Linked DNA regions of Homo sapiens: all the other regions are linked to region 2. Evidence: promoter capture Hi-C in 16 types of primary human blood cells and fetal thymus (Javierre and others, 2016). All regions are on one chromosome and are shown on one strand. The core of a region is centred on a gene start or on the middle of the fragment in contact, and the rest is flanking DNA. Distances in the headings are between cores, read along the strand shown.

The links. Contacts are between HindIII fragments. The CHiCAGO score rates a contact against its expected background, and 5 or more counts as called.
Region 1: a fragment that was not itself captured here is called in contact with the fragment with the promoter of EMX2 in region 2 in 1 of 17 cell types (endothelial precursors); the score reaches 5.5 in endothelial precursors.
Region 3: a fragment that was not itself captured here is called in contact with the fragment with the promoter of EMX2 in region 2 in 1 of 17 cell types (activated CD4 T cells); the score reaches 5.2 in activated CD4 T cells.
Region 4: a contact is called between a fragment that was not itself captured here and the fragment with the promoter of EMX2 in region 2, in 2 of 17 cell types (endothelial precursors and M1 macrophages). The highest score is 6.0, in endothelial precursors.
Region 5: a contact is called between a fragment that was not itself captured here and the fragment with the promoter of EMX2 in region 2, in 2 of 17 cell types (non-activated CD4 T cells and endothelial precursors). The highest score is 6.6, in non-activated CD4 T cells.
Region 6: a fragment that was not itself captured here is called in contact with the fragment with the promoter of EMX2 in region 2 in 1 of 17 cell types (M0 macrophages); the score reaches 5.2 in M0 macrophages.
Region 7: a contact is called between a fragment that was not itself captured here and the fragment with the promoter of EMX2 in region 2, in 1 of 17 cell types (endothelial precursors). The highest score is 7.0, in endothelial precursors.

Annotation. Positions count from the first base shown.
Region 1 is chr10:118,434,755-118,437,829 of GRCh38, reverse strand. No RefSeq gene overlaps it. Among named protein-coding and RNA genes, the nearest start is that of LINC00867, 79 kb to the right of the region's middle. The HindIII fragment of the contact is 2,023 bases long and covers 553-2,575 here.
Region 2 is chr10:117,540,837-117,544,016 of GRCh38, reverse strand. It overlaps EMX2 (empty spiracles homeobox 2), which reads right to left and starts at 1,271. Exons shown (of 3, transcript NM_004098.4): 1 at 344-1,271. The coding sequence starts at 749. It also overlaps EMX2OS. RefSeq lists an enhancer at 1-56. The HindIII fragment of the contact is 6,949 bases long and covers 1-3,180 here.
Region 3 is chr10:118,291,644-118,294,838 of GRCh38, reverse strand. No RefSeq gene overlaps it. Among named protein-coding and RNA genes, the nearest start is that of FAM204A, 49 kb to the left of the region's middle. The HindIII fragment of the contact is 2,642 bases long and covers 360-3,001 here.
Region 4 is chr10:118,392,516-118,395,506 of GRCh38, reverse strand. No RefSeq gene overlaps it. Among named protein-coding and RNA genes, the nearest start is that of LINC00867, 37 kb to the right of the region's middle. The HindIII fragment of the contact is 1,016 bases long and covers 800-1,815 here.
Region 5 is chr10:118,454,532-118,457,731 of GRCh38, reverse strand. No RefSeq gene overlaps it. Among named protein-coding and RNA genes, the nearest start is that of LINC00867, 99 kb to the right of the region's middle. The HindIII fragment of the contact is 4,127 bases long and covers 1-3,200 here.
Region 6 is chr10:118,329,407-118,332,251 of GRCh38, reverse strand. All of the region lies in intron 6 of FAM204A (family with sequence similarity 204 member A), which reads left to right. Among named protein-coding and RNA genes, the nearest start is that of FAM204A, 11 kb to the left of the region's middle. The HindIII fragment of the contact is 1,706 bases long and covers 658-2,363 here.
Region 7 is chr10:118,413,206-118,416,462 of GRCh38, reverse strand. No RefSeq gene overlaps it. Among named protein-coding and RNA genes, the nearest start is that of LINC00867, 58 kb to the right of the region's middle. The HindIII fragment of the contact is 722 bases long and covers 1,583-2,304 here.

The sequences.
Region 1 (3,075 bases), core at 315-2,814, 890 kb before region 2:
CTAACACTGAAATATAGCTTCATGAAAAGAAAAGGGATATTCCTTGTTTACAAGTAAAAAATTGAGGTTACTTAGAAAGGAGAATAAACTGGAGAGGGTTTTTATCCTTTCCCATTTAAATGATCAAAATTAGACATGGTGGAATCGCATTTCAAGGAGAAAGAATGTGGCTAAAGAATGTGTTTCATTCATAAAGACAACTGAGTCAGAAGTTCATATATTCATTTAACTTAGAGCGCTCAGGAAACATGGAGGGTTTTGAGTGTGATGTTAGGGCCAGGGGTGGAGTTGGGGTTGGGTAGCAACACGGAGGCTGGAAGGATGGGAAGGGATCATCCAGGGAAAGGGGGTAGAGTAGGAGAGTGCAGAGGGATGGTGAGAAGCAAGGCTGGGTGGGCACTTGGTGGACAAACCACATTAAGGACTCTTGACTCTATCCTGAGTACACTGGAGAGCTACCAAAGTGTTTCAACTAAGAGGATGAGAAACAGTTTTACATTTAAGAAATCCTCTGGATGTGCAGGGGAGAATAAATGAAATATGAATAAAGCTTGGTGGGAGAGGGATGAGTAGGGACCTTGTTGCCGTTGTTCAGACAAGAAATGATGGTAACTTGGACCGGGGTGGTGGCAATAGAGTTAGAAAGAAGCAAATGTACTTGAGAGATATTTAAGACACAGATGGAAGGAAAGGAATGGAAGAGTGTGAAGTTGAAGTTGATACTGATGTTTCTGCTGGAACAACTGGACTGGGGAATTCAGAAGAAGCAGCAGTTTGGGGGAAATTTTGGGCACATGCCAGGGAAATATCCTGTAGGCAGATGGTAAAATCAATGGGTTTGGGCTGCAGATATAGATTTGAGTGACTTCAGTATGAAGAGAATGATGATGTCATAGAAGTATATGCAGTTGACTAGGGTCAGTATATAGAGTAAACTAAAAGGCATTCTCAGAATAGCTGTCTTAGAACATGTAAAATTCACAAACCCTTTTTCTTAAAGGATGTTGGTGGATGTAACAAGCATAGGTTAATAGATGGTGAAAAGTAAATAAGCAACACATATTAAGAAAAGCGTTGTTACTGATAAGTTTAACTAGTTGAAGCTACCACTGAACTAAAAAAAAACTCTTTAAGTCAAGAAAACTGAAGAAGCAAAATAGAGATATTTCAGGATTTTAGGTTAAATAAATGAAAAAGTGAATGAATGAAGGAAAAGGAGGGAATTTCAAAATGCCAACAGTCTTTGTCTGCCATAAAAATCAGTCCAAAAATATTAACAATAAATATAGTCAAATATAGCATTAAGAATGATTATCAAGTGTTTTCGGTAATAACTGTACCTATCCACAGAGATGTGACTTAACCTATAGGCCAAAAAGGGAAAATGAAATCTCCAATCAGAGTAACCCTAATGTATATCAGATATACACAAGCTAGAGGTAGGGGCTTGTTTTGTTGTGGTAGGTGTTATTGATAGTTCCATTTTACAAATAGGAAACTGGAGCTCAGTGAGGCTGAGAGATTGAATTACATTGTTGATTTTAAATCTGATGACCTTTTTACTTGTGTATTTCATGAAAAATACACGACATGATAACTGTATTAGTCCGTTTTCATACTGCTGATAAAGACATACCCCAGACTGGACAATTTACAAAGAAAGAGGTTTAACTGGACTCACAGTTCCGTGTGGTTGGGGAGCCCTCATAATCATGGTCTAAGGCAAGGAGGAGCAAGTCACATATTACGTGGATGGCAGCAGGCAATGAGAGAGCTTGTGCAGGCAAATTCCCATTTTTAAAGCCATCGGATCTCGTGAGACTTATTCACTGTCATGAGAACAGCACGGGAAAGACACCTCCATGATTCAGTGATCTCCCACTGGGTCCCTCCCACAACACTTGGGAATTATGGGAGCTAGAAGATGAGATTTGGGTGGGGACTCAGAACCAAACCATATCAATAACAAAAGACAAATCACATAGTAGTAATTATTCCACTGCAATAATGACCATCCTAAGCATTTAGAGTACTGCCTGGCACATAGGGGTCTTCAAATAAGTAGGTTTCAAATGACTGGTTTAATTAATTAGCTAATTAATTAAAAATAAACATAAACGCTCAAACTTGCTTGCATTAAGAGGCAAACTATCAAAATCAATTATGTAATTCAAGAGAAGAGACACCTTAAAAGGAGCATAGATATACACAAATATAGTAAAACAAAAGCACAGGAAAAGAGGTATTGCAATGGAACAAAAAGAAAGCAGGACCCAGGTAATTAATAACAGTAACATGGACTTTCATGTAACAAAGTATGAAGGAAGACAAGGATAAGCCAAAGACAAAAGACAATTAACAAAGGCATAAAATACTTAAAAACAAAACCTAAAATTAATACCAAATAAGTAGACAAAAAGACTTCGAGGAGGTTAAAAAGATAAATAATGGAGGAATTAATAAATATGTGTTAGATTTTTGTTTTATAACCATGGAACAGTCCTTGTTTGTGTATCCTCAGAATATTTAGAAACTGAATACAAAATACTTCCACAAAGAAAGATCTCAATAAGCTTTAAATCACCAAACTATAATTTGTTAAAACTTCACTAAATATCTCAGGATTTATATATACATTAAATATACCCACAAGTGGTTTAAGAGCAGACAAGAAAATAATGGTAATTTAAAAACCCATATAGATATAAACATGTATACATTCTAATAACTGAATTTAGACTTTTAAATTAGATGCCCCAATTTTAAGAAAGACAAAGTGGCATAATATCTAATTTTAAGATTGTAGACAAGACAGAAAAGAATAAACTGAAGCAAATAAGTAGAAGAAAATAATAAGGGTACAAGCAAGAACAAGTAAATTATGAATATAAACTGGAAGAGTTGATAAATTAGAGCACTCAATCTTTTAAAAGATTAATATATTAGAAGAACCTCCAGAAAATGTAATTGGGAAGAAAAGTTGAGAAACAAAATTCTAAATGAGAAAAATATCATAATAAAAATAAATGTAATATTAAAATAGCGATATTATGCCTCAGTATGGTCAATTTTGAA
Region 2 (3,180 bases), core at 22-2,521:
CAGGAGCCTGGGGATCCCGCGGGCTCTGGGCTCCGCGGCGCCGGGCACGCACAGCCCAGCCTGCTCTGATTCGAGCGCACTGGGGGACAACTTCTCCGTTCGCACCCCTTCCCAAAGGGTCAAGCGGCCCGCAGGCCATCACTCCAAACCAGTCGTAGCTTCGGAGACTGGGGATCGACACCACGCCCGGCCCCGCGCCGCCTAGTTTCCCAACAGGGCGCGCTGGCCCGCGAGCCGGAGGAACCTCCGCCCAGGCCTTGCCAAGCGCCCACCCGGAGCAGGCCGGGGGCAGTGAAGGATGCGGCGGGAGCGGCGCGCTGCAGTTCCGCGACGTGGCACGTACCTTGGAAGCGATGACCCAGATATCGGTAGCGGTGGATGAGCCAGGGGTAGAAGGTGGACGGATCCCGCTGCTGCGAGGCGAATAGGGGGTGTGGCGAGTGCGAGGAGGGTAGGGGGTGGGCGGCCAGGGCGTGCGGCGGCGGCACCGGGTGCACTGGCACGGCGGGGTTGGGCGGGTGCGAGACCGCCTCGGCGAACACCAAGTCCGGGTTGGAGTAGACGCCCCTACCGGCGGCGGCGGCGGCGGCCGAGTGGAAGCCGTTGAGGAACGGATTTATGGGGCTGGAGTTAGCGTAGCTGAGTGCCGCGGGACGGATGGGGTCCTCGGAGCGCGAGGCGGGCAGGGGACTGTCCTTGGCCACCAGCGACTCGATGGTGAAGCAGCGCTTGGGCGCCGGCTGGAACATGCTGCGCCGAGGAGCGGGCGCCCTGGGCTCCCAGCTCCTGGCGACCGCCGCACGCTGCCTCCGCCGCCCGCTGCCCGCGGCGAGGACGGACGAGAATTGGGGACTCGTTTGTTTGGGGTGGGGGTGGGGGTGGGGGGAAGGAAAGGAAGAAAGAAAGGAAAGGAAAGGAAAAAGGAAAGGAGGGGGGAGGGAGAGGGAGAGGCAAAGCCGAGGATCCCGAGAATCTTGCACCAAACGCGCCCAACCTGAAGAGAGGGGGGAAAATCCTTCCAGAAGAATTTGCAGGCGTGGATTGGGGTAATTTTTTTTCTTTTTTTTTCTTTTTTTTTCTTTTTTTTTTTTTTTTTTTTTTTTGGCGAGATGGCGTGGGGGGATCGGAGTTAGAGGCAGGGAGGAGAAGGGGGGAAAGTTCTCGGGGGAGGCAAAAAAAAAAAAAAGTTTTTTCTCCTCTGCAAAAGGCGGGCAGGGCGCCCTAAGTCCAAGGACAATCCATGGAAGTGTTCGCTTCTTCACAAGTTGTGCAAACGATTTGTTAGTTCATGAGCCTAATTAGTGCGGGGATCACATAAACAGCTTCCTCCGAAGCCTGGTAAATGGCTTGATGATTGGTCGCTATTACTCGCCCTGAGGTGGAAGGGGGGAGACTCTTTAAAGTGCGTCAGAGGGAGGTGAGCGCCTGGGAACCCGGAGGCCTGGATCCGGGCCGAGAGTGGAACGGAGTCGGCGCCGCCGCCTCGGCTGAGCCTTCTGCCGCCCACCGGGCGGCCGGGCTTCTCCGCGCCTTCGCCCCTCGCTCCCAGCTCACTCGCTCCTGCGGCGCCCGCTGCGGCTTCTCCTCCTCCTTCGCCTCCTCCTCTTCCTCCAGTTTCTTCTTCTCCTCCTCCTCCTCTTCTTCCTCCTCCTCCTCTTCTTCCTCCTCCTCTTTCCCCACCTACTCCCCCTCAGCCACCGCCTCCTCCTCCACCAGCACCACTCCCTCCGGGGCACCCCGGTCCCTGCAGAGTCCCTGGCCGGCGCCGCCTCCGCTGCGGCCCCCTGAATCCCGAGCCTGCCTCGCCCAAGCTGGTAGGACAGAAGGACAGACAGATTCCTCTAGCCTAGCGCTCCGCCGCTGCTGCCTTACGCGGCCCCGCGTCGGGAGAACTGGGATCGCCCCAAGAGCACCGCGAGGGTAAGCGGGCAGGGGCTGGTTCCCGGGCTAAAGGCGCCGTTCGGTTATACCAATCCCCACACTTAGCAAAACTCCCAGCGGTTTCCTAGGCCAGGAGGGATCCTGGAGTGAGGGGTACGGGGTCCTCCCACCCCATCAACCACGCTTAGCCTCGAGGTCCCAGGGTCGGTGCGTTCGCGATTCTTGACCCGGCTCGTTCGTTTGCGAGTTGAGACCGGGAGCTGCCGACCCCGCCGGAGCAGTGGGCTTCCAACTCTCTCCCTCTCTCGCCCCACGGTCTCTAGCGTTTTCTGTCTGGGAGGGTGCTCACCTCCTTCCCCAAAACAATTCCTTCTGGAATATCTGGGACCGGCAGTCCAAGGTCAGGGGAGAGCCCGATATGGTGCTACTGTACTATTAAGGTTCCGTCGTAATTATTTTTGTCAGTGTGGTCAATGTTATTATTATTATAGATGATATTATTTTATTATTATTATTTCTATTATTATTATTATGCCATCTGTTGTCCCGGGGTTGGTGGGGGGGTGGTGGTTGCTGTGCAAACCCAGTGCAACTAACGACTACGGATCGCATCTCCGGTCCCGGGCCGTGTCCGCATTTTCGAGCTCGCCTTCGGTTTTGGGATGATTTTAGGACCGAGTTCCCTCGTCCCCATTGGCTCGCGCGGCGGCATAATTATGATCACATCCCCAGGCTGCTGGCGCTGCTCTCTGTTTATTGGTGGTTAAAGATCTATTATCTATTCATCAGCCGCCTCTTTTTTCCTTTTTTTCCTTTTGCCAATTACATTCTTCTAAAGTGAAGTACCAGCAGGTATTTTGCACGTTTACAATTAATGATAAAAAAAAATTCTAGCGTCGTTTAAAACTATTACTCCCAGGCCCCTGTCATTTCTCCTAAGAACGCAGAATTGCCTGTGTTTGGTGACTAGGTTGCCGTGAAACCTGGGAAGCCGATGGCAATGGGAGGAGAAGAGTGAAGTCCACCGTGAGCCAGGCTGCACTGCCACCAGATGCATAGTTGAGGGGACAGGTCTCAGGACGAGCTACCTGCTTCCTCCCTTGGTTTCATCTGGTGTATATTTATGTTTGTGTCAATTACTCCTTTATTCCAGATATAATGTTGTGTTGGGGCAAGTGTCCAAAAACCTCTTTTGGGAAACCAGGCAAGAGAGGAGTTGGGAGCAGTGTTTTCCGGGGTTGTCAGGGCACCAGACAGATTCGTGAGGAACTGGCAGAGATCATCTTTGTTGCCCCCACC
Region 3 (3,195 bases), core at 431-2,930, 750 kb before region 2:
TTTCAAGTTGGTGGTGGTGGCCATGTGGAGGCTCCTTACTGATGCCTTCTTGTGCCACCTCCAATTGATGTACATAGTACATATTTGTAGCATGGTTTTAAAATGACAGTCAAAAATTTTTATTGAGTTTTAATATATATACAGCAAAAGTAATCAATCTTAAGTGCTTAGCTTGATGAATTTATAGGTAATTCCCATGAAACCACCTCTTCCTGGATCAAGATATTTCTAATATCTCTTCCCAGTCAATCACCACCTCCACCCAGAGGTAACCACCATTCTGATCCTAGAGGGTTTTGCCTGTTCTTATGCTTCATATCAATGAAATCTTGAAATCTGAGATCCTTTTGTGTCAAGCTTCTTTTGTTCATCTTATGCTTGTGAGATATACTCATGTTGTGTGTGACAGTAGCACTCATTAATTTTTTACATAGATAAGCCAACCTTACTTTCTAATCACACTTTATTAGAAAATAAGTTTATATATGTATATATTTGGTAAAATTAATTGAGGAATTTAAAATTATGATGAGCTAACATGTCTGTTTAGAATTTGTGTTTCATTCATAGTTCTTGAGCTTTGAATCACATGGGCATGGTGGCTTTTACTCTAGACTGGAGGTTCTAACCCCAGAGCCTTCAGGCAACAGACAGATAACATAAATAACATAAATGAGAACATGTGTGGAGTAGGGATTTGTAGGCCAGGCACAGAGGCCCAGTATTACCAGGTCTTCTGTTTTAAGGAGAAACCAAATATACAGATTTGAATAAAACCTCACTAATTCTTCACTTTAAAAATTTTTCAAGAGGACTGTTGTTTTAAATTTGCTGGCATATATAAACAATCCACAAATCTGTTAATTGTGCCTGTCCTATTCTATCCTTTTTTCCCCCTAGGCTCTTTGCTTACCCATTAAACTAGTGAACTCCACAAGATTGTGATGATGACGGCAACATAGTTCTTAGATTTCTCCAAATCTCCACATTAAAGAAAAAAAAAGTCATAGCAACTAGACACCCAAACCATGAACTCCAACATTCAAGTGGTTGGGGAAAACTTTTTGACAACTTCGAGACCTGCCTATAATTGGCATCTCTGCAGGAGAAAGCAGAGGTAAGCAACAGGGCATCTGAGAGATCAGAGAAAACTTCCAAATAGCCACCAGGTATGTGCTGGAGAGCAGGATAGCTTCAGAATAGACACCAGATATGCACGGGGAAGCAGAGCAACACAATTTGGGAACAGGTAAAACTGAAAGGGTGGGTGCAAGACACCCGCAATAAAACCTTTAGGGGCTGGAGCAGCCGGGCCCCTGTGAACTCTCAAAATGGAGTCCACAGAGCTCCTAAAAACTGAGAATGAAGTGAGTAGACTAGGGATAACAGAGATGAAGAAGGAAAGGGAAGGTGCAGGGTACAGTTACAGAGGGAAACAGCCAGAAATTCACAGAAAGCAAGCCAACATATTTATTCACTCACACGCGCACACACAGAGAGAAAGAGAAAGAGAGAGAGAATATTCAGAACCCTGTGAAGTTAGAAAAGCTCATTGAGCCAATCTTCCTTCTACAAGTTTAGGAAAACTAAAGTCACATGTAGATAACAGCAAAAATATGCCACATAAAGTTAAAAGAGAATAAGAAGCCAAATGACATTCCTACAGGCAGTGAAAAAAATATAAAGCTCACAGAAATTATAATGCACCCCTTCAAAACAGGCTAAAAGACATTAGAAAATGACATGGGCTGTGAAAGAACAGCATAAATCAGAATTAGAAAAACTCAGGAATGAGGCGACAGAATGCAAGAAAAAAACTACAGAGAAAAATAATTTTAGAAGAAGAGTAATCCAGAAGGAACAAAGAGGAAATAAATGGCAAGTAATATTTTAAGAGAAATAGGGAAGGAAAAGAAGAAAAATTTCAAAAAAAAAAAAAGAAGACAAAATATAGATAACAGAAGTACCGAAGAGGAAATCTAATGCAAGGAAACAGAACAACTACTAAAAACTCTGCTTCAAGCAATGTTTTCAAAAATCAGAAAGAAAATGATCTGAAAACACATGTTGAAAAAGCATGCTATGTACCTGAGAATGTTACCCAGAATAATGAACACAAAACCATACTGTAATGTAATTACTGGGTCTTGTCCAACACCAAGACAAATTGCAGTAAACTAGTAAAATTGCTGGTAAAAAAAAAAAAAAAGGCATCTCTAACAAAAGAGCCTGTAACTTAAAGGGGAAAGAAAATTAGTTATCGTTAGACATTTCAAGGCAATGCTTTGGGTCATAAGAAAATAGAGTAACAGAGTGGCATACTTAAGATACTCAAGAAAATGTGAGCCAAGGATTTTAATTTATCAAAACTGATCTTCAGATACAAAAATAATTCATACATGAACTATTATTATCATGCAAATATATAGGGAAAATTATTCCATGAACTCTTCCTAAGGAATCTAGTAAAGAATGAACTTCAGACTGAAGAGACATTGATGTGATCTCTCTGTTCCCATGGAGACCATGTCAGACATGGTCATGACTGATAGTGAGCACTCTATACATGGAGACGTGTGGAATTGAGAATAAAGAGCAAAGGACATTTGTAATATGTACTAGCTCTATGATCTGACCATATATATATAGCACAGACAAAAAGTAGGAGTTGGGGGGAATGAGGAATATGCAGGAATAAATCCTGGCAAGTCATTAGGGAAACGTAAATCAAAAACACAATGAGACACCAGGTCACACTCACTTTAATGACTATGATTAATAATAATAGTAATAATAATAATAATGGACAATAACAGGTGTTGGTGAAGATGTGAAGATACTAGAACCCTCATATATTGCTAGTGGGACCATAAAATGGTGCAGCCACTGTGGAAAACAGTTTGGTAGTTCCTCAAAAAGTTAAAGAGTTACCATATGACGCAGTAATTCCACTCCTGGGTAGATACCAAAAGAACTGAAAACAGGTGTTCACCCAAAAGCTTGTGCATAAACATGCATTGTAGCGTTATTTGCAACAGACAAAAGATGGAAACAACTTAAACGTCTGTCAACTGATAAGTGGATCCACAAAGTGCAGTATATTCATACAATGGAATACTATTCAGATATAAAAACAAACTAAGTGCTTATGTATGTGACAACATTGATGAACCTCGAAAACATTATGCTAAGTTA
Region 4 (2,991 bases), core at 58-2,557, 850 kb before region 2:
TAATGTCAATATTTCCAGTGAGGCTGAATGAAAGCAACTCTACTATGTGGCTTGATTTGCAACTGGTTTTTACAAAACAACAACAACAACAACAAAGCCATTTAACTGGTAAAAATCATTTTAAAAGAAAAACATAATACCTAAATCTGGGCGAAAAATATAGCATTTTTGTGGTGCGTATAAAACTTTGGCATAGAAAATAATATATAGCTGAGTTGATTCACAAAATAAGCCTAAGAGATCTGTTATATGTTATAATTATCTTAGAATCTTTTGTACAATGGGAGCATGAAAACCCAACTCTCTGTGCTGTCAGAAATGTTTTCTTTCATTTCTTTTTTTTTCTCTTTTTCTAATCTTCCTTAAAATTTTGGTGTGAATTAAACTCACCGAGGAGGAAACCAGTGAACATCTTCTGCAATGCAGTTATGAAAATAAGAGCGGAGTTGTTATTGCTCCCATCTGGGACGCCAGATGTTTGCAGACTGGTGTGGGAGTTGCAGCACGTTTCTGACCCCAAACTGAAGACCTGGTTAAATGTGTTTAAAATATCCCCCTTCCTGCTCCAAACATGACCATGCAATCGAGTAAGAACAGAAACAAAAATATGAATACCTGGCGTCTGCTAAGAAGGCATGGGAAATAATCACTGGCAAAGACTGAATTAGAATCTGGTTTTATCTATTGTTTGTAATACAAAAGGAGGGCAGAAAGTTCTGCCATGCAGGCTTTTGTTGTTTTAATAAAACCACACCCTGTTTTACTACTGCTGAAAGCAGGAAGTCCAATAGAGGAAGCTTCCTTAGAGCTTTTGTCTTGAAATGTCAGAGATAATATAAATTTTCTTTTATTCATGTATCTAGAGGGTCAAGAGTGGACACATATAACAAAACTGAAAATACCCCATAATCAGTTGTAATATATCTCTGTCATTTGTTTAAGGCCAAGTGGTCCACCCATTTATCATCTTAACACGAGAGCCTGAAGGAAATGCTCTCATCTGGGATCAGTCTGTTACCCATCATTTGTTTATTCATAATCTTAGGAGAGTAGGGCTCCCTTTGCAGGCTCTAATGAGGGAGGATAGGGAAATGAGAGGTCTAGCGGAGGACTGAACTTCTGCAAACAACCTCTGGACTTCTAGAAGTTTCTTTTAAGTATGAAACATTTGAGAAATGCTCCTCATAATATATGTGCAATTTGATAGGTCTATAATATGATTAGTTCTTCCAAGTTGAGAAAAAGCATATAATAATTATCTTGACCCACAATAGCATGAAATAGTTTTCATGACAGTTTGATGACAAGGATATGAGGAAAGAGTTTCTATGCCATAAAGATCATGCATCTCCTTAACTCTGTTGACAGTAAAATATGGATTTCAGCTTAGCCTGCGGCTCAGGAATACACTTTGTTGAAACAGTAGTTTTATGTCTTTCTTTTCTAAGACCAAACAGGATTACAGGTATGATTTACTGAACAAAAACTTCAAGGATTTAAAAAAATAATAATTGAACTTTAAGAAAACAAATAAATTAGAAGATAAGACTCTGTATCATATTAGGATTAATAAAGTTCTTAATGTTTATATTTATAACTGGGTGCTGGTGTACCTCCCTTCTAAATTTAGTCATATAGCCTACATAGATATTTTTGATGTTAATAATTTTTACATATGCTAAATAAAATGATTAATTTTATAAGGCAGGTAATTTACTTGTACTGTACAGAATAATTCCTTAATGTATCTGCTTCGAAAGTTTGGATTTCTATGTGTAATCTTTTCTTAGAATGACCTGAGTATGTCATAAAGCTTCCGTTTTCCATCCCTTGTGATTTAAAGTCAATAATTAAACATAGATACAGGGAAAGGATACAAATATCCTTGTTTCCTTGCCTAACAGCCTAGAAATATCTGCAGATTGCTCTAGATCCCATTTAATGCAAAGGTTTTGTAATAAAGTTTTATTAAAAGCTAAAGTTTAAAAGACTAAGTAATTCTTCTAAGCCACAATAAGGTTTTCTCTCTTACATAAATAGAATGTTAATTAAATCTTTACATAATGTATACACAATATAGCAAGGCAGTTGTCTACCTCCGTTTCCTCATGTGTGAAATGAAGAATTTTAAAATTCGTACCTAATAACTCTCACATTTCACAGTTGTAAATAGTTCCCAGCAAGTAGAGAGAAAAATGATTGAAAGAAAATTTGTATGTATGCGTTTTACAATGGGCTCTGGGCCTCAGAATTGAAATCTTCTCTCCGTCATACATATTTTCTGGATATGGACGTGCTGTCAATGTACAGAATGCCAGTGGACATTTACTTGTTTATAATCAAGGCGGTGGGGAAGTATTTCTATAGGCTCTCACAGGCTCTGCCCAACAGACTATTATTTTCATCTCAAATTTTAAGACGGAGAGGCCTGTTGCTCACTTCCCTTGTGGATAGAGCCGGGAATGAGAGCATGACATCCAAGAGCTTAACTACCAAATCTGAAACTCATTCGGGGGCTGTCCTCAACAGATGTCTTAGTGAGAGCTCCTAAGTGGAGCCAGGGAAGGGTGGAAGGTTAGGTCACACTGCAAGGAGAGAAGTAACTTGCCAAAGAGTCAGCGCCAAAAGCAAGAAAAGGCCCCTTGGATTTATTGCTTGGGTGTGGGGTCTGGTTCTTTCTCTGGGGTCTGCAGAACAAGCGTTGCCTCTGGCTTCTTCCTAGAGGAAACCACTGACTCTTGGTATTCAGGAATGCAGAGGAGTCATTTGACCTTTTGGACGTATTTGCATTTGGACGTTGCAAAGGCTAACAGGCCTTCAAGAGCTAAGGACCAGCAGAGGGTGGGCACCAGCTGAATCCTAACTCTGATGCTTATTAGCAGCGAGGGCTCACACAAGTTTACCTCACTTTTGAGCCTCAACGTTCTCATCTGTAAAATGGGGATGCAATGTACCTCCTCATGAGCTTTAGGGAGGAAAGGGGCTATTACA
Region 5 (3,200 bases), core at 22-2,521, 910 kb before region 2:
TCCACGTCTCCAAGGCTACAGGCCTCCTGAAATGGAGAAGAGACCCCAAGCAAAGTGGTCTTTCCAGGAGACATCAAGTGCGGTCATCACAGTGACTCTCCTCTCATCTCCTCCTCACAGCATTGGACTTGCCTTTAAGATCTCCAGTTTAGAACAGCTTCAGCTGGGGGATGGCAATGGGGAATGGGATGGAAGCCAGAATTTGCTCTCCTAAATCTGGCCCGAGCGATAGAAGGCATCTTTGGCCTGAAGAAGTGTAATACAAAGAAAATCCTAATTGCTACAGCTAAGTAATTAGAAGATCCAACCTATATATCATAGTGTGGCCACCCCTTTAATTATGTGCACAGTTCGGTCGGTGACTAATGCATCTTCTTTCCTAGATGAGCGTATTTAATATCCTGTGATGGCAACAAGTTTCAAGCTGATTTATCGTTATTTTGTTTGGTCAGATGATTTTCCTGCATTTTAATGTGTTTTGTGGTTACATATTTGCTATGAACAAACAATGCTTTTCCCAGGTAGTACGCTCTAAAATGCTGGCTGCACGATTTGTTTACTATTCTTTTAGGCCTCTGAGAAATCAAAAAACATTATGTACTTATTTTTGAGTAGCTGCACTAAAATCTTAAACAGTCTCCTTAGAGCCCTTCTTTCTCTGGCAGTATGTACACACGCAATAAAATATTTGAAAAATTATCAATTTCTTTGAGTCTCATTCTGACACCTGGATAGGAAGTTTTGATATGAAACTCTAATAACCATATGACCAGCAGCATCCACTAACCGTGAGATGGTATCTGACTTCAAAGGTGCTAAGGACAACACATTCTAGAATGCACATGGTATTACATTAGACATGCCACTGAAATTTTAAAAAGTAGTAATAATAATAAACAGAACATTTTAAACATACACTCTAAAGGCTTATGCTCAGATCCAGTGAAGTGGTGGAAAGACTCCAGGCATTGGAATCAGACAGACTTGGGTTCAAATCCCAACTCTGTCTCTCATTAGCTGGGTGGTGCAAGGTGACTTTGTTTAACTTCACTGGAACTAAATTCCAGTAAAAAAGGAATCAGCTTACCTTCTTTGCACAGTGTCTCTGAGGATGAGAGACTTTGCCTAATGAGGCCCCCAGCCTGGTACCTGGGATACAGTGGGTGCTCAGTGAGTGCTAGCTCCTATTGTAATTGTAACCCGAATACATTTGGGCCTTCCTGCTCACAGAATCCAAAAGAAACACGAATCAATTTTGAAAGCCCTGGTGGTAATGTGTACATCCTTGAAGCACTCTTTCTTGAAAGGCAATAGAGGGGAAATTGCACACACACACACACACACACACACACACACACACACACACACACGCAGCCAAACTTCTAAAATAGCCTCTATTCCTCTCTCTCTGAAGTACCCCAAATTATTTTTCTCCCTTTTTAATTTCAAAACTCCAGCCCCACACCAGTTCCCCAAAGCCTCTCTTGTCCCTTTGGCTCCCTTCTCCCCACCCCCCTCAGGGGCTGTTTTCCAGCCAAAACTCAGCCCTCCCTGGCACAGAGAGAGTCTCCTGCTCTCAGCCCTGCGACTCCATCCCTGGCCTCATCTCAGCAAAAGCAAGACAAGGGGCTGAGCAGAAGAAAGCCTTCCTCTTTAGAAGGAGAGAAGAGAGAGGCCAGAAAGTCTCATGCCCTGTATGTGAGAGGAAACACTCTCAGGTTATGTTCAACAGAAATTATTTTAAAAAGCAAGCTACGCGATTAGAGTGTATGCTCTTTTTTGGGTTGTTGAAGAGAAGTGAATGATCGGAAAGTAAAAGAAAATAGTAGACCAGGGAAGAAGGTGAGAATGACAATAGAAGGGTTAGGGGGCTGCAAAGGGGAGGAGAGAAGAGAGGGATACATTATGGGGAGGCCTGAGAGTCACTGGCCGCCTGGGAGCCGATGGCTGTGTCTTCTGCTTCCATAGCAAATTGCTGACTTGTCCGGAACATTTATCACTTTCTCAGCGCTTTTATGTGGATTGATTTATTTTCACAACAAATTTATTTCTGTGTGTTGATTTGTTCTCACACTCACCCCAGGAGGTAGGAACTTTAGTATCCCCACCCTACAGATGAGTCCACTGAGGCAGAGCCGATCTCAGTGACTTGTCTGAGATCCCAAAGCCAGAACCCAAAGTCAGGCAGCCTGGCCCCAGGGCCCACATTCTTAACTGCAGTGTTATCCAGCAACCCAGGTCACAAAGAAAGAAACACAGGAACGACTTCAACACTGCAGATTAGCCTGCACCACCCGAAGCCTTTTAGGAGAAAAGAAAGGAGGCCCGTGGCTGTGCAACTTGTTCCCCAGAGGCCAAAACTGTTCTGGAACGTGATTGGTCCTTGGTAAACATCTGGGGACAGACAGACAAGTGTGTCCAGTGGGACGGGAATGAATTTTAGCATGAGAGGAGAAGGGTAGGGATCTCTCTGCCACCATGCAATGGAGAATTTTCACCATGCAATGCAGAATTTTCAACATGAAACCCTACTATTGGCCTATTTAAAATTCTACTACGAAAATGACAGAGTTTTCAATAGGAAACCCTACTATACTGGATAGGCCATAGTAGGGATTTGGGTTGAAAAGTAACCAACCAGCCAGAAAGACACAAAGCTAGCAAACGTTTCATGGTGGTTTGGGGTAAGTGGAAGTTGCTTTTTTTTGTTTTTCCTTTTAAAAATATGTCCTGAAAGCATAAGGGATATTTCTTTAGAATAACCCCCCTTATGAATTACACGAATATCCCAACATCAAAGTATGTGAGGAGAAGCATCAGGCGTGGCACCTGGCATACGAACAACATCTCCCAGCAGGACATTGCAAAGAAAACAGCAGAGGATGTCCAGATACTTTAGTTTTGATTTTGTTTTAAAGGAGCTTATAAAGGATAAGGAGGACTTTTCTAAGGTTCTGGTGTAGGGGCCCAGTTTAAACAAATGCCATTGAAATCCAGTAATAGAAACCCTAAATCAGTTGTAGCCTCAGGGGACCTCTTTGCCCCTGTGGACTTCAGAATTGTCACTGTGCTTCTTGATGGAACTCGAAATAAAAGCAGAGGTCCATTGCAGAAGGTCCATTTTAAAAAAGATTTTTGTGTGTGGTTTTTCCTACCCAGTGCTAGGTTTGGGATTAGCATCCAAAAATGAAGGTTATTTC
Region 6 (2,845 bases), core at 261-2,760, 790 kb before region 2:
GTCATTTGGTCCCAAATCTAGATTTTTTCTGAACCTGGTTTTTATTTACCTGACTCATATGATTTTTTTTTTTTTTTTCTGAAACAGAGTCTTGCTCTGTTGCCCAGGCTGGAATGCAGTGGTGCAATCTCAGCTCACTGCATCCTCCACTTCCCAGGTGCAAACCATTCTTCTACCTCAGCTTCCTGTAGCTGGGACTAGAGGTGTGCGCCATCATGCCCAGCTAATTTTTGTATTTTTAGTAGAGATGGGGATTCACCATATTGGCCAGGCTGGTCTCAAACTCCTGACCTTGTGATCCGCCTGCCTTGGCCTCCCAAAGTGCTGGAATTATAGGCATGAGCCATCACACCCAGCCGACTCAATTGATTTTAAGTGGGTATGATTATATATATATATATATATATAAAGGTAACAAAATTATGAATAAATATATGATTTACATTTATGTATGAAAGTACCTCTTCCGCCCCTCCACTGCCTTTCTTTATGAAGAGATTGCCTCATTTTTTCCTAGATATTTAGGTTCAGTAATGCAAACTTCAATGGATAATTCATTTGTGTTAAGCTTTAAAAATTGAATATATTAACAGAATAAATATTTAATAGCAGAATTTTCATATAAATATATTGTGGTATAGTTTGACTTTAAAAGCTTTAACCACATATAAAAGATATTCTACATATGCACATATAGATGTTAGCCCACAATGTTAAACCAAGTACCCATACATTTCTTAGATATTTGTAGTCCTGTCTTCTTGACATCTATATTAAAACTTAATTAATTGGCAATTGTTGCCTCGTGGGTTAGATACTTCGTTTAGATAAATTTTTCACCTGTGGCCAAATTGCCATTCCTAGGTTTGTCTGTGTTGAGATATATCATAAATTATGTTTTGATTCTAGCCAAAAGGCAACTTAGAAGCACACCAAGGTGCTGCAGGCTATCAGTAGCTCCTCTGTGCCTCCTGCCACTCCTATAGTATGGAAGACATTCTAGATAAGTCAAATAAAGGCTACTCTTGAGTCCAGCTTAAAACTTTTCAAAAAGCCTTAATACTCAGACTCTATTTCATGAGATTGCTTACTGACAAAGTGGAATGCTTGGGTCTTGTACTTGGGTCTGAGCTTGAAGAAGTATAATGCAGTCTGTAGCCTTATAGAGATAAGCCTTCTCTTTTGCAATAATGGTATCCTGATATTTAGGTTTAATAATAGGAGCACCTTATTATTTATTGAATGACTACTATATTCTAAAAACGTGGCTAGGTATTCTATATATATGTTCTTTGACTCATCATAATCTTGCAGAGAATGTGGTTTTATTCTCATTTTATTGCATGTGTAAGATAACTGCAACCCACAGAGGTTTAGAAACTCACTCAGGGTTGCTTAGTTCATAAGTGGAGGAGCTAGTCTGAACCTAGGTCTGATCCTGCCAGCTGTGCTCTTTGTGAGCTGCTGTGAACTTACAGTCTTTAAGGAGATGGGAATGTTTTACTAAGTGTTTTGAGTGTATTTGGAATATTAATAAGTTCTTATGGAAACAAAGTTTGGGTGTACATGGAACCAGGAGTTTTTCAGAGCTAAAAGAAGGTAGTACATTTTATTTAAATAAATTGTCAGAAAGAGAAAAGGGCTAAAAACAAAGCTGAAAATGTGATAGAAACCTAGAATTTTTATTTCTAGGAGGGTTACTCATTCAAGCCAGTCTTCTTATTATCTTTGAGGAAACAGAGGCTTATGAGTCAAGTATGTCATTTACCCAGAGCTTTGACCACATCTCCTGTCTTCTAGTCCTGTGCTCTTTCCACTGTAATATGCTATTACCTTTAGATTATGATCTTAATGGCTGGGGGAATGGACAGGCAAAAGAATGGAAGCTGTTAGTGAGCAGGTTGTTGAGATGAATGGTTGGAGCAGGTCTAGTTTGATTGCTTCCCTGCGTGAGATTGGATAAGTTCTGAGTTGAGGTATCAGGCTATGCAAGAATTTGTAGTGCAAGGAAACTTGTAGTTTGATATTAATGTTTTATACAAATAGATTTTGACACATACAAATATGTGTCAGTGACATTTGAGGCGATGGTTAATATTCTGCACAGGAAAATGAGGCTGTTGTATTTACATTTTTTAAAGAAAATAACTATTTTCAGTAAAAATTAAATAAAGTTCTAGGTGCAGGTACTATTTTAAGCTCTGGGAGCCCAAGATGGAGAAGATACTCTCCATGCCCTTGAGGAATGTATATATTCTAGTACCAGGATAGATGTATATATAAATGAGTACAATACGTGTACCTTTTTTTAACCATAGGGGCATTATTACTTCAATATTACAGTTGTGAATTCTCTGGAAGCTTCTCAGAGTAGTTGGTATGTAATAAATGTTCCCAGTTTGAGTGGGGTCCTTTCACTATGAATGCAAACATGGATGACGGCAGTGTGAATATCAGCTCAGTAGCACAGACTGAACAAATGTCTTCTATGTAGAAGGAACTGGGCTGGATTCTGGGACACACCAAGCCGGTGACACACAGCCTGCTCTCACTGAGTATAGGACTCAAGAGGGGAGAATACACAACTCACTGTAGTGTGTCAGACAAGTTAGGTGCTGAAGGGACACAAGGTACAGCAACAGCACAGAGTGGAGAGCCTGGTGTGGGGTTTGGGGAGGGTGATGGGGTCATAGGAATGTAGGGCTGAGGAGCTCTGCGTAGATAGAGAAGGTAACATTCGACGTGAGCCTAAAGGGATGATTAATATTTTTCAAAGAGAAGCACATCAGAGGCACAGGGAACATTAGGAAAATGGTAAATGTGACCAGAGATTAAAAAGCATAGC
Region 7 (3,257 bases), core at 694-3,193, 870 kb before region 2:
ACACTAATGTTCTACTCAGCAGGCTCCTGTCACTGCCCCTGCCCTTGCATGCATTTCCCAAAGATTGTACTTATTAACTTAATTCTGTTGGACTCGTAAGATGAAACATGCAAATTCACATATGTCAATATATTTGTTTATGAAAATGTGTGTTTCCAGGCAAGAACCCTTCGAGACTGTGGAGAAAAGAAGTGGTAGCCCCATTCTAAGTTATCCACCTGCCATCCTACACTCTGGATCTTATTGGGATTATCTTAATTCAGGCTTAGATTCTGGTTTAAAAATATCTTTAAAAAATAAATTTAATTCCAAGTTAGAACATGTAAAACTGTGCAACACACAAATGTAATAAAAGAGTCGCTGTCCATGTTGCCATAGGAGGGAGGCAGGACAAATGCGGCACCTTGAATAAGTTTTACCTTTTTTCACCTTATCTCTTAAAGTGTTACTGAATAACGAATAGTTTGAGGACCATGTTTATTTCAGCTCTGGAAGTAGGATCTGCCACTCAGGAGAAACAAGATAGATGTTTCAAACCAACAGCAGTGATAAGCGGCCCTGTGCAAATAAATTTGCATGAGGGATGCTCTACAAACCCTCTCCATAGGCACCATGACACCTTGCAAGGGAAAACTTGTGCTGGAGAAAAGTTGGAAGCAGTATGACACATAGAAGAGAAAAAAACCCTGACCAACTTCCCCCACCCCTTATAAGCAACAGAAGCAGAGGCCCCATTTGGCTCAGGGTCTCTAAGTTCTGTTCAACATAAAAGCCAGACAGCTGTGAAAGTCCAGCCTGTAGGACAGAGTCCCGGAGAGCCATAAGAAATAGCACCCATTGGACAAAGATATTGGAGTCATCTGCATAGTTGCCTCAGCAGTGCGAAATCACTCCTTGTGGAGGCAGACATTTGGAAACAGATAAAGCCCATGAAGAATGCCTCTTTTTGACTTCAGAGATGAATGTAGATGTGAACACATTACTGCTGTTTTAGGGAGGCTCTTCTCTGTTACAGATAACCGGGATTGGGAATATTGGATTACCTAATAATGGCTCGCTTTAGTTCTGCCATCAGCACTTATCAGGTACATTAGTTTAAAACCTGCAATTTTGAACTCAGCATTATTGAGCTTTCCAAAGATTAAGTTACTGAACTTTTGTTGGTGAGTGTCTCTGCGAAATTTCCTGAAAAGGATAGTCCTCCTTCTTTGTGTGAAAGTGAAGCCAAATCACATACTTTATTGATATTTATAGACATACAAATGATAGAGCTAATGTACTTTAATGCCTGCTACTTGATGGAAAGGCTGTGGGCTGTGCTTTCGGGCTTTTGTTTTTCTTAAGATAATGTGGAGTACTGTAGTCTCTTTGTGAGCCTAATCAGAGCAGGTAGCTTTTTTTCTTTCTTTTTGTTTTCCCCAAAGCCTTATTTCAGAAAAAGGCTTACACCAAAAGTCTATTTCAAGAAAAGCTCTGTGTGTGCCCCTGATACGGGCACGGTCTTTACAGTGTTCTAGCACCAAAAAATACATCCCTATGTCTCCTTACTGGCTTAGGTGGAAACCGTAGGAACATGGAAGCTTTAACAAAGGCAAGTCGATTTTAACACTCTGTACTAAAAAATACCTACACTGAGGAAGAGAGTCTTAATCTCCCAGCCATGAAGATTTAATGTTTTCAGAGTAATTTTACAGACATTCTGCCTGTCAAGGCCCAGTACGGTTTAGAGTTCTCGAGTCCCCACAGGCTTAAGCATCCAGGCATGAACCAACTTTGTAATTTTTGAGCCAGAGGAATAAATGTTGATCCGTGGTGGCTGAGCAGAATTAAGAAACAATTTACCTGCCCTCTCTTTAGGGAGTTTGCATACAACTTCTGCTCATTAGAGGTGACTTATAAGAAAATTTAAGGAAAAGACAGAGCAACTGCCCCCACCCCAACACACACACATGTACACAGACACACACACATAGACACACACACACACACACACACACACACCCCAGTTCAGCCTTCAGGTCCTTCACTGTCTGGAAGCAACAGAAACAGGGGCCCCATTTGGCTCAGGGTCTCTTAAGTCCTGTCCAACATAAAAGTTAGACAGAATATCCACCAAAATTGGTAATAAAGTCTTAAATTTCTCCGAGAAAGGAATGAATATGTAGGAAAAATCATAAATGGCCTGCATGTACTGATAAGATGCTGGAGAAAGAGGTGGGGTTTGTTAAAACAAAAACAAAAATAAAAATCCGGGGTCCACCAAAGTCTGTTTCTATTCTGGTGGTTCTGAAAATTCTGAAAGCTTAGATTTCTGGGAGTCATTGGTAAAATACATTTTTGGTCACTAGTGTTCCTATGATAGTCATAGTTAAAATATATTTTTAACCTGAGCAACCTCTAGGGCTTTGGTTATATTTTGATTTAAAAAATTAGATTGACTGAAAAGTTTATGAGAAATATAAACATCAGGCAAAGATAAGTAATATGCTTTATACCTAAATTTGTCTATTGCAAAAATAGCAGAGCTCAAGCTATTTCGTGTCATTATCCTAATCCGTAAGCATTTAGCAACTTGTGTCAATGGTATTTGCCTCTCAGGTCACACAAAGAAATCTATCTTAATAAAGTCAGAAAACTATAACCTGTTTCTGCATAATTTCTAATATCCTGGTAGGGGGTTCAGTTTCCATTTCATCAGAAGATATTTTTAGTGGTAAGTTGCTTTAAATGGTGAATCTGAAAGTAATACTCTTAGTATCCCACTGGCATTAGACAGAAAATTCTGAATTCTCTTTCTCTGCTGTTTTGGTTCTGAATCTTAAATTTGGATATAAAAGGAATCTTGCTAGGGAACTCTGTTTTCCTGACCTGAATTAGAATTTAGTATGGGCTGAGATCTCCTCCCTGGTAGACACTCCCAACTTGTATTTCTCACTGGTATATATCCAAGTGTCTATTACACAGATTCACTCCCAGGTGTGGGAATGTATGCAAATACCATCTCCAATCTTACAAATGGTCTGGCCAAACTCTCCAAAGGGCCCGTGGCTTCAAATGGGGCATTAAGTAAATGGTTCATTTTATTTTTTATTCAAGCTCAGGAGACTTAGGCTTTTTCTCTAGCCATTTAAACCACCTATGAATTAAGACAATGAAAGGAATCGAGTATTTCTCTTTAAACAAGATACACTGTTGTCAGCTGCAGAATAAAGTCAGGAGTTAGATTTTGCCTGGATGCTGAATTCTCCCAGAGCACA